4 separate regions of the Homo sapiens genome follow, and regions 1, 2 and 3 are each linked to region 4. Evidence: promoter capture Hi-C in 16 types of primary human blood cells and fetal thymus (Javierre and others, 2016). All regions are on one chromosome and are shown on one strand. The core of a region is centred on a gene start or on the middle of the fragment in contact, and the rest is flanking DNA. Distances in the headings are between cores, read along the strand shown.

Evidence for each region. The method cuts DNA at HindIII sites, captures the fragments that hold promoters and counts their contacts. A CHiCAGO score of 5 or more calls a contact.
Region 1: a fragment that was not itself captured here is called in contact with the fragment with the promoter of PRDM5 in region 4 in 1 of 17 cell types (naive CD8 T cells); the score reaches 5.2 in naive CD8 T cells.
Region 2: a contact is called between a fragment that was not itself captured here and the fragment with the promoter of PRDM5 in region 4, in 2 of 17 cell types (megakaryocytes and erythroblasts). The highest score is 6.4, in megakaryocytes.
Region 3: a fragment that was not itself captured here is called in contact with the fragment with the promoter of PRDM5 in region 4 in 1 of 17 cell types (naive CD8 T cells); the score reaches 6.6 in naive CD8 T cells.

Annotation. Positions count from the first base shown.
Region 1 is chr4:121,093,319-121,096,018 of GRCh38, forward strand. No RefSeq gene overlaps it. Among named protein-coding and RNA genes, the nearest start is that of NDNF, 22 kb to the left of the region's middle. The HindIII fragment of the contact is 2,642 bases long and covers 1-2,624 here.
Region 2 is chr4:120,715,391-120,718,095 of GRCh38, forward strand. The region is part of intron 14 of PRDM5 (PR/SET domain 5); the gene reads right to left. Among named protein-coding and RNA genes, the nearest start is that of PRDM5, 210 kb to the right of the region's middle. The HindIII fragment of the contact is 1,914 bases long and covers 320-2,233 here.
Region 3 is chr4:121,051,855-121,054,554 of GRCh38, forward strand. The region is part of intron 1 of NDNF (neuron derived neurotrophic factor); the gene reads right to left. Among named protein-coding and RNA genes, the nearest start is that of NDNF-AS1, 18 kb to the right of the region's middle. The HindIII fragment of the contact is 2,827 bases long and covers 6-2,700 here.
Region 4 is chr4:120,921,309-120,924,008 of GRCh38, forward strand. It overlaps PRDM5 (PR/SET domain 5), which reads right to left and starts at 1,418. Exons shown (of 16, transcript NM_018699.4): 1 at 1,208-1,418. The coding sequence starts at 1,300. LOC105377399 (a long non-coding RNA gene) reads left to right here and starts at 1,628. Exons shown (of 2, transcript XR_001741804.2): 1 at 1,628-2,019. The HindIII fragment of the contact is 4,297 bases long and covers 1-2,700 here.

The sequences.
Region 1 (2,700 bases), core at 54-2,553, 170 kb after region 4:
AGTGGCAGGGTTCAGTATTTGATTAAAATATGTAACATAAGGGAGAGAGATAATCCAGGGAAGATACTCTGGTTTCTGACTTGGGAAACTTGATGAATAGTACTGCCTTTCAATGTGATGAGGAACAAAAAATAGGAAATGAATTTAGGTTAAAAGAGGAAATGTGATGAGTTTGGTTTGGGACACATTGTACTTGGGTGCATATGGGCCATCCAGAAAGAAATGTAAGAATAAGTACCAGGCCCAGCATGGTACTGTAATCCCAGCACTCTGGGAGGCTGAGGTGGGCAGATCACTTGAGGCCAGGAGTTCCAGACCACCCTGGCCAATATGGAGAAACCCCATCCCTACTAAAAATACAAAAATTAGCCGAGTGTGGTGGCCCATGCCTCTAATCCCAGCTATTAGGGAGGCTGAGGCAGGAGAATTGCTTCAAGGGAAGAGAGTGACTTAAAGAGGGAAGAATGATAAATAGTGTTAGGTGATGTAGAGAGCCCAAATAAGGAAAGATTTAAGAAGTGGGCCAGGTGTATTGCCTTACCCCTGTAATCCCAGCATTTTGAGAGGTCGAGGTGGCAGGCAGATTGAGACCAGGAGTTTGACACCAGCCTGGGCAACATGGTGAAACCTCCTCTCTACTAAAAATACAAAAAATTGGCTAGGCGTGGTAGTGTGCACCTGTAATCCCAGCTACTTGGGAGGCTAAGGTGGGAGGATCACCTAAGCACAGGAAGTCGAGGCTGCAGTGAGTTGTGATCACACCACTGCATTCCAGCCTGGGTGACAGAATGAGACCCTGTGTCAAAAACAAGAAAACCCCAAAACGGTCATTGGATTTAGCAAGCAGGAGGTCATTGGTGTCCTTTGTGGGAACAGTTTCACCTAGGTCATGGAGGTAAAAGGCAGATTACATAAGGATGAGAAGTTAGTGAAAGCTGTGGCTGTGGTGACAGCATGTGTAGAAAACACTTTCAAGAGGTTAGCTATTAAAGAGAGTCGAGAAAGATGGTGCTAGACTGTATTAGGGCAAAAAGGACTTGAGCATGTTAATACGCTAATGGGCAGAAGCCAATGATGAATAAGAGGATAGTCAGTGGGAGGAGATTTTTAAGGATGTAGGAAGGAAGATTTGAGGTACAGCACTGATGGAAGCCTTAGCCTTTGCCAGAAAAAGAGAAGGAAGTAGTGATGATAGTCCAGTCACAGGTTGGGTAACAGGAGGTAGTGTGATAAGAGTTTTGAGATGCAAAGATGAGTATTACAGGATCCCAGTCTTCTTTCAGTTTGAGAGAGAGACAAAAAACAACACAAGCAAATAATTCCACTATTCAGGTCAAAGTAATAAATAATGTAAGAAACTTATAAGTCAAAGGCAGTGACTGGTACCTCAGAGACTGGAAAGGTTGTTTCTGATTGGGGTGAAGTAGAATTGCATAAGGAAGTGAAAAACTGAGATGTGTCTTGAAATATGTGAAGAATTTGGAGGTGTAGGCCATAGTATAGCACGAGAGTACTTTCAGCAAAGGAAACATATCAGTAAAGTGAAGGTGTGCAGAAAATGGTGAGTAGATAAGATTTGAATGAAATGGAAGATATGTAAAATAATAGCCAATAAATCTCAAAATATAAGTTGGAGCTTTATTGAGGAAAGCCATGCATATCAGGCCAAAGAGTTTGGCCTTGTTTTCAGCAGGCAGAAAGAAGTTACAGAAGAATTTTTTATAATGTTTAAAAAATGGAGCATTTGGGAATCAAATTAGAAAGGTTTGACAGCACACAAATATAAAGGCACGGAAAACCTTGACTGCTCCAAAAGTATACTCGGCATTCGATAAATATTGATTAATAAATATAGGGCTAGTTGGATGGGTGAACAAAGAAACACACAGACAGTCATTCTAACACTGGAATCAAGGGTTTACGTAGTCTTGCATTGACTACTTAATTATGTGAGCAGGCTGACTTCAGTTGCACCTCTGCTGTTTATGTCAAACATCAACAACATGTTCTCATTTATATAACAAACTGGTTCACAGTCCTTTAGTAGGCCAATTTAGTTGTCTAGCTTTACGACGGGAAAATGAACTTCTAGACTTGTCAAAGTACACAATTTTCTAAATACAATTTACAAAGCGTGAACTGCCTTTGTATTTCTACATAATATAATATTAAATCAAAACAACGTTTGAAACTTCATTTTTTTTGAATGATTTAAAGGAGGAATAGAAAATTGTTATGTTAGTTTTTGAAAACCTTCCTTTACTTGCTAACTTTTACTAAGTTAATATACTTAGGAAATAATACTAAGGAAATATGTAAAAAAACAAACCATTTACTCTCAAAACTTTATAAAAAGATTTTTTTTTGTCAATTGTGAGAGCTTAGAAAAAACTTTAAGAAAGTATTACTGCTATTCCAATTTAATTTTAAAATGTCCCACAGCTTTTATAGAGAAAAAAGAACTACAGTATTTTCAATGGCATCATGATGACTCAGCCTTGCTTTATGAAATACATACTCTTTGATATTTCCAATTATTACCTCAAAGAGCTTGCAGAGGGGGCTGATTGATTTCCCTTTATCAGTTGTTGAAAGTGTACACTTGTGGGGCAATGTGTGGAAGAAGCTTGTCATTAAGTTGGAGGTTTGAAGCCTCCAACTAAAATGCTTTTATATTGCATTAAAATTTTGCTTCCTCAG
Region 2 (2,705 bases), core at 27-2,526, 210 kb before region 4:
AAATATGTTTAATGAGTCTTCCCCAGTCATCAGGAAAAATGTTCAATTTTCTTTGCAGTCCAAAAAATATAATGTGCTTTCCCCTCTAGTCTGAATAAACATAATGTCTTTTCACAACTTCAAATATTTCTTCAAATATTCCACAGTTTTTCAAAAACTTGAAAATGAAAAGGTAGTTTTAAGTATTTGGATCAGAATTTGTTTGAAGTTGCTGGGATTTCTTATTAAGGCTTGTATTATATCCAAATATTCTACTTAAACTTTTATTTTAAAAAAACATACAAAGACATTATTATGAAGTATATGAGAAGAAACAAAAAGCTTAATCCCTACACTTTACTTGTAAGACCAGAAGTTGTGAAGACATGATGGGCATGGCACCATGGCAGCTGCCAATGACAGGTGAGGGTTTTGCAGAGAACATCCTAAGACAGAACTGTCAAAATGCCACCCTAAGAGCAAGAAGAGGTATCAGGGAAGAAAAGGCAATGAAAATCAAGACCTGGGCACCAAAGATTAAGAACAACCCTTTTACTCCTTCCCAAATTTCCTCTTAGGAGACACTATCTGGGTGAGTATCCTAGACATTGCTCATACAGATGCTTAAAAGACTGACTCCCTGCTAGTATACTGAGATTCTGGTGAGGCATGAGGGCTTTGCAGTTATCACAAGAGGTTTAAAAATGCAAACACGTATTAATCATTGCTTTAGCTGAATAATGTCTTATATACTTACACACACACATTATCCACTCACATACTGATATTTTTCACATGTTTATACATGCTATTGCTGATTAATTTAATATACTTCACTTACAAATGTCGTTGAAATTATATTACCTTTCCTTATTTTCTCCTTCACAATATACTACAAGTACAACAACCATGTATTTATATATGCATGTTGGCAGAAAAGTAAAGGATAAAATGTGTAGTGTTAGAAAGGTTCTTCCAATTAAAGAAGTTTGAAGAGAAATCCATTTGATTAAGTAGTTTTCAATCTGCCTGGACTCCCTCTTCTCTACCTAGAACCATTTAAAGCCAGGGAGTCTTTGGGGTTTTGCCCTAAGAGAAGCACATGAAGGCCCCACGAGCATACTTCTATGTTAGTCTGGCAAGAAAGGCTCTCTGTCATAACTAAGTATATCAACAGGCAGCTGTGTTTGTCCTTCAAATGCCTCTCTTCTTCATCCCAGATCTTACACAGAGCCTGCACTATTCCTGAAGATATCACAAGAAGATATATAATTCATGGCAGATACTAGTCAGACTGTCTATAGTGCTCCTTGAAGGAACTTCTAATGCCTACCATGGAAAAGGATTCCAATTTATAGTGAATGTCATCAAAGCAAGTCTTAGAGAATTCTTGCTCTAGTAAATGGCTCTTATACTAGAGGCAGAGCCAAGAGGTCATAGGCCACTCACCTCTAAAGTTAAGAGAACCAAATAAACCAAAATAGAAGAAAATAAACGCATTTTCTTTCTCAGAGAGTAAACCCTCACATAGACCCTCCCTTACTAATTTCTTTTCATTACCCCTAATAAGCCATGCCAAAGAAATACCAATCAGAACATGGTCAACACAGTTAGAAGAACAGGCTGAGTGGTACAGGGGATAAGATTGGAGAGGCACTGACTTCTGTTCCTGCTCCTTTCTTTGAACATTGTGAAAAAAAAAAAAAAAAACTTCATTGCCTCTAGAGCCTTCCTGAGTGGAATATGTAGTATAAATTATACACTTTAACTCATTAGCTGAATTTCAGTAGAGAAAGAATGATTAGGTTCTTGATTAATTCTGTTTCTGAATGATTACATAGTTTAACTGACAAATAGCTTGTCCTTTGTCATCACAACTTGGGAATCATTACTAAATGGAGGCAATGTATTTGTCAGTTAAACTGTGTAATCTATTAGAGGCAGAATTAATCAGGAGTCTCATCAGTCTAGCTTTAATCAAACAATACTTGGCAGATTTCATTCAAAAGGTAGGATTTACACAGCTCTATGTGCTGCACCTTGTAATCTAGGTAATAAAAAGTCGTATTTTGTGTAGTTAATGCCCACCTATATAAAAGAACAGTATCTTCAAATGTTACATTTTTTTGATAAGATAAACTGAATTAATAAATCTCAACATCATCTGAGAGGGTTCTACAGAAACAAAGTTAAATTTTAGATATACTTTGGAGGACTCTGAACATGAAGTCTTTAGAAATAGAAATTGATTAGAAGCTTTCTTTTAGTTGAGCTAAGAATTCCTGACTAAAAGATTAGAGGTATGACCCCATCAGACAGGCTACCAAGGATAAGGATGGGTCAACCTCGGATCCCTGGATGGATCCATCCCAGAATGGATCACAGGTGGATGATCCACATACAGTAGGTACATAATCCAAAGATTTCCTGTGGTTGCTGTCTATGGTTTACATTAGACCACAATCAAATAAAATGGAAAATAAAATCAGTGAGCTCTTTCTCTTATAGTCAGAGGCCAAGGTAAAGGTGTCACAAAATCATAGAATGATGCTTAATAGTTCTCTTTCATGACCGTGATAGCTGACTCTACTGAAATTGAGAAAGGGAAACTTGTAGGCAATGAAAGAAAACAGGAAGACTAGTGAGCATGGCGAGGACTGTCAGAGCCTGTGGTCTTCTGAACATATATAATCATGAGTTTGCTTAGGAGAAGGTTCAACTTGCGA
Region 3 (2,700 bases), core at 169-2,668, 130 kb after region 4:
TAGAAAGCTTGTCTTTAATAGTTATAGACTGCTATTTGGCTATATTATCTGAGCAATTCAAACAATTGCAAATCTGGTAGATAGAAAGTTCTTTTGGGCTTTCATGTAAAGGTCCAAGGCTCTCAAAATAGAAGACGTGATATAAATTAATGCACTGTGACCTTTCTCATCACTGTAGCTTCCTCAGAACAGCAGCCAACAGCTTTACCTACCTGTGATAATATGATCAAAACAAATTCCTCCATCCCTCTATCACCAACAAGTTCTTTGCAGAAATGTATAAATGTAGTTGTGAAAAATGTCATCAAGCTCTTACACACTTTACATATTATAAAATTTAAGATCAGATTCATCACTATAAATATAACATAAAGTATAAAATTTGAAAAAATATATAGTATCACTGAGATTCGCTTAAAAATTATCTAATGTGCCTGATCATGTGCAGGCCACGAAGTTGAAATACATTTACAATGACAAAAAAGGATGGGCATTCTGATTTACTTGAAGCAAATGTATAGAGAATAAATGAAATCTAATGTTTAATTAAAGAGAGTGGAAAGTGCATGATTATAATTTGGCGAGAATAATTTCAAGGAATGGTCTGCCACAGAGATTTCTGTTATTTTCTTTTCCTTTCTAAATGCAAATATTTAGTCTTTTAAATTTCTATTTTCAAACTCAAGAGCATTTGTTTTTGTTTGAATCATCCATGTCACATTTGATAATAAATCTGAAGCATTTGGTCCAGGTGTAAGAAAAAAATATATAGCTTTAGTTAGGGGAAGAGCCGTGTGTCTGCCATGACTTGCTGGGCAGCAAGCGAAGAGGACTGCACACTTTAATACTGAATGTCCAACATGTGCCAGCGTGGATGTACGGATTCCTTCGAGGCAAAAATGCAGCAATCAAAAGTTGAATTCCCAAAAGGTGTTTTATTTTGTTTTCTTTTGCAAACAATGAAAATGTCTGAAGTTAGTTGTTCTTAAAAATCCAAATCTGTTAAAAATTTGAAGGAAATACAGCATATTATGGGCTGACATTTCCATACCTGAAAAGGGAGAAATAAAGCAGATGGAAGTAAAGGATTCCTGGTCTGCCCTGACGAGTGGTCTCTGGCACATGCTAGGTGAGCTCTCACTCTGCGATAACATGCCAACTTCTACCCAACCCAATGAAGTAGAGCCGACATTATGTACAGAACTCGTGCACTAAAGCTCTCTAAATGCAGGCTGTCAGTACACAGTGACATGATTATTAAGAGTTTTAGAGTTCATTATGTCAATAATCTACAGATTAGGGACCTGCACATGCATTTCAACTGCAATGATTCCAACCTCCCTTAGCACTTCTCTAAATGACTGCCAACTTTCCTTCTGGAAGGAAATTAAATTAATATAAAAAAGCAATGTGAAATTAAAACATGCCAAGGATTCGAATAAAGTTTCCATTCTGTCATGCGCTCCCTCTGAGTCTCATGATGCAGAGTTCCTAACAGGGATAACGTTAGGGCATTCTAATTTAAAAGATGGCCAAGCCTACACAATCAGAATTACTTCAAAGAGGATCAGATTTTAAAGTAAGTAATCTTGTATTCCCATCAATATTAATGCCAATGAGAAGAATAATGAATAACAGAACTGGCCGAAATAAATGTCTCATAGATAGGAGTAGTCTGTAATTCAGGAAGCCAGACCCATTTTAGTAAAGAAAGGAGTAGAACTCTTAAAATGTATCAGATGGATGGTTAGAAGATATGACAAAGTTCAAAAGCAGTGTATGGGAGAATGCAAAGAAAAACTGGAACAGAATACTAAATACCTTCTTCCTATCAAAATGTCCTCTATATGTGAAACTGAGATAGCTGGGATAACTTCCACTGTCTTAGGTGATGCTAATGATTCTTAGAATAATGAAAGCCCCAAAGGAAGGAATAATATGCTTGGTTGCTTTTCTTGCTTTTGTTTGGCAACTAAGCCTTATTTCCTGTTGATCTGCAACCAAATGAAAATGACTTCCTGTGCAACATTCCCCAAAGCAGTTTACAAACTGCATACCTCATTCTCTACTGAAATTTAGCTAAGATGGAGCATGGCAGCGCGCCAGTAGCATTCAGCAACAGCACGTATCAGCCTGGAAGGTGAGGCATGAATTGTTGTGGTCAATAAAAAAATATTGAGTCACTGCAGTGTGTAGCACCATAAAAATTTGATTTTTTATAGCCATTTATCCAAGAAGTTAACTCTTCAGTAAGTCACTCCATGGATTTCTTAGGATACCAAAACCTAAATATGGCCAAAAGAGCAAAAAATGAAGAGAATAAGAGTTTTGTCAAATATCGATGTCATACTCCAAACTCAACTGGGTAATGTGAGGTCTGAAAAAATATGTATCTTAGGAACTTAGAATCTATTTATGGGGCAAAATGTACCTGCCCAGCCAACAGAGTCCAATGTCAGCATTTCTACTCATTCATTATTTTTTTAATTCAATATCTATATAATACATTTTTGCTACATGCCAGGTACTCTTCTAGGAACAGTGGTGACCTCAGGAAGTGAGTGTTCTAGTGGGAGTGACAGGCAACACATAAACAGATACACAAGAAAATACTATTGCTGCTAGCTATGCTAAAAATTAAAATAGGCTTCTGTGAAAGACAGTGTGGTGATGGGCATTTTAGATTGAGTATTTAGAGAA
Region 4 (2,700 bases), core at 168-2,667:
ACACCTCTAATTCAGATAAATTATTTATTCCTGTTTTTAACATTTGAACATTCTCGCCAACTCCCACTTGAAAAAATAAATAAGTGGTTTATTTTCTCCAATTTTGCCCTGAAGGATGACTGGAGATCATGTTGTCAGTGGAGCCCTTTTTGGGGATTACTAGCACTTTCTACTACTCTTCACCAGCTCTTTAGGTCAGAGGCAAAGGGGAGAGGGTTATATGCAGATGAAAGGCACCCTAGTGTCTCTACTGCATCCTCTGAACCTCTTGTTAACATACCTTACCTGAACAAGCCTGTTCTTGCCCAAACCTCCATCTTACAAAATATCTACTAAGAAAAGGGGGCGAGGACGGCTAGGACGACTCTAACAAGTTATAATATTATAAGATCAAATCCAAAGAGCTGGACTTTTCCTGTGGCCTCTCTTCCTAGGCCTTTGCTTTCAACATCCAACACTTTCAGGCCCTTCCTGTACGAACTGAGCAATGTGCTTCCTCTCATCACATGCCTGTAACTTTCTGGCTGGAGAGATCGAACCGATGTTGGAGACAAATTAAAAAAAAAAAGAGCGGAGAAAAAAGGTATAGACACTCAAAGATCATCTGGTTGGCACCTCCCTGAAGGCACATATAATACATTCCAGAAGGAGGGAAGGAAATCCTGGGCGTATGAATGAGATTCTACGGCCTGCGTGGAGCGGCGCTCTGGGCTGCTCCTCCCATCCCCGCATGGAAAGTTAGGCGTTTCTAGCCACATTAATTCATCCTAAAGGAAAAGAGGCGACAGCGGAGCAGCGTGCGCGCGGGGGAAAACACCCGCCCACGCGTGCCTTCGCCAACGCAAAGACGCAGCTCACACCCGTAACCGAGGAAGAGGGAGGCTCCCGCCGCGCTCACTTCCTGCGGGAGAGAGGAAAGACATCTTGCGGCAGGGAGGCCGGTGGCAGTTCCGCCCCTGGACCGGCCGGCAGCGGAGCGCACCCCGCCGCCACCTACGTGGCGCTGCCTGCTCGGGTGGCGCAGCGAGTAAAGGCCACCCCCGCCGTGCCCCGCGGTCCCCGGCCTTCCCACGGACGCCTGGCCCGGCCCGGGCGAGGGGCGACCGGGGTGAAGCCCGCCGCGCCCCGGGCCCTGCGGCAGGGCGACTCCGGGAGGCACAGGGCGCGCGAGGTGCAGGGGCGCGCAGGCCGCCGCCGGGTCACCCACCTTTCGCACTCTGCGGGCCGTGTAGAGCCCCATGCCGTCCTGAACCCGGGAGGACTTCAGGGAGAACCTGTCCGGCACGTACATGCCCAGCATTTTCCCGGGCGCGGCGGCCGCCGCCTCTCTCAACACCGGCGCTTAGCGCCCGGCAGGCGGCACATCGAAATTTGGGGTGCCAGGGTAGAGGGGAGAAACCGGCAGGGAAGGAGGAAATGGAGTTTTCCTCCCAGAATCCCCACCTCCCTGCCGATTCCAGGATCCCCCGCGGCTCAGCCCCTCCTCGTCCCGGGTCGGGCTCGGCCCGGATCCGTTCCTGCCATTCCTGCTGCGGGGGCGCGGGGGGCGCGGGCCTGGGCGCTGCGGGCGCCGGGACGCCGCTCGCTGATTGGCCCGAAGTTGGCGGCTCTGACCCGCGCCCGGGCGCGAAGCCCGGAGCAGGGCTGACCCCAGGGCCTCAAACCCGGAGGCCCGCGAGCTGCGCGGGCCGTCAGCACCCCTAGCCCCGGCGCGGCGGCGTGCGTTCCCGCCTTTGTCCAGCTCTGGGTTTTCAAACCTTGCCCCGCTGAACCATTACTCCCTGTAGGGGAGTCTCGCTTGCTTCTCTTCAGATGCAAAACGAAATGGACCTTCACACAGCTGGGGCATCCTCCAAAACAACTTTATCAAGTTCCTGACTCTGAAAGCCAGCTTATTGCCGACTACTGAGAACGAACCCTGCGGTCTAGGAAATTTCCGTGCTTCTCACATTTGAGTTATGCGTCTTTGCTTTTTTTCACGTTTGTTGCAGAGGCTAGAACTTAATAAGGGATCGCAAAGTATGTTGATTAACGTACGGAAAAATATGTTGCAAACAATTTAATGTTTTAAGCACTAGAAACTAGATATTTTATGGTAACATAACCTCTGGGAAGTTCTTATACTTCTCAAGGTACAATATTCCTGAGACCTCCCTTGCTTGATAATCATTAGACGTATTACGGATTTTCAGACATACGGAAGTGGATTTGTGGGAGACAGGAGGGGACACCCAAACAATAGCATCTGGTGTCACAACAATGCAATAAAGTCACAAGTCTTGTTTTAGTGTTTTTAATAAGCTGTTAGGCTGTGCAGTGTGCCCAGGACCTTTAAAAGCCTGTTTCATCCTTCAAAGTGATCCTGGGGTCATCTACTCATTTCTCTTGATATTTATGGTAATTTTCTACTCTAGGGTCTTTTCTCGGAAACCATTTGATGTTCTTAATTGATGTTCTCATAAACCATTAAAAGCACACACAAAAGTTTGACAAAATTACAGACTACACACACACACCATGGAAACGATTCCTGTTTCTGCAGGAAACCCTTGGAACATAGTTCCTAAGCAGATTTTTTTTTTTTTTTTTTTTTGACAGGGTCTAGCTATGTCTCCCAGGTTGATCTTGAACTCCTGGGCTTAAGGGATCCTCCGGCGGCGTTGGCCTCCTGAAGTGCTGGGATTACACACTTGAGCTACC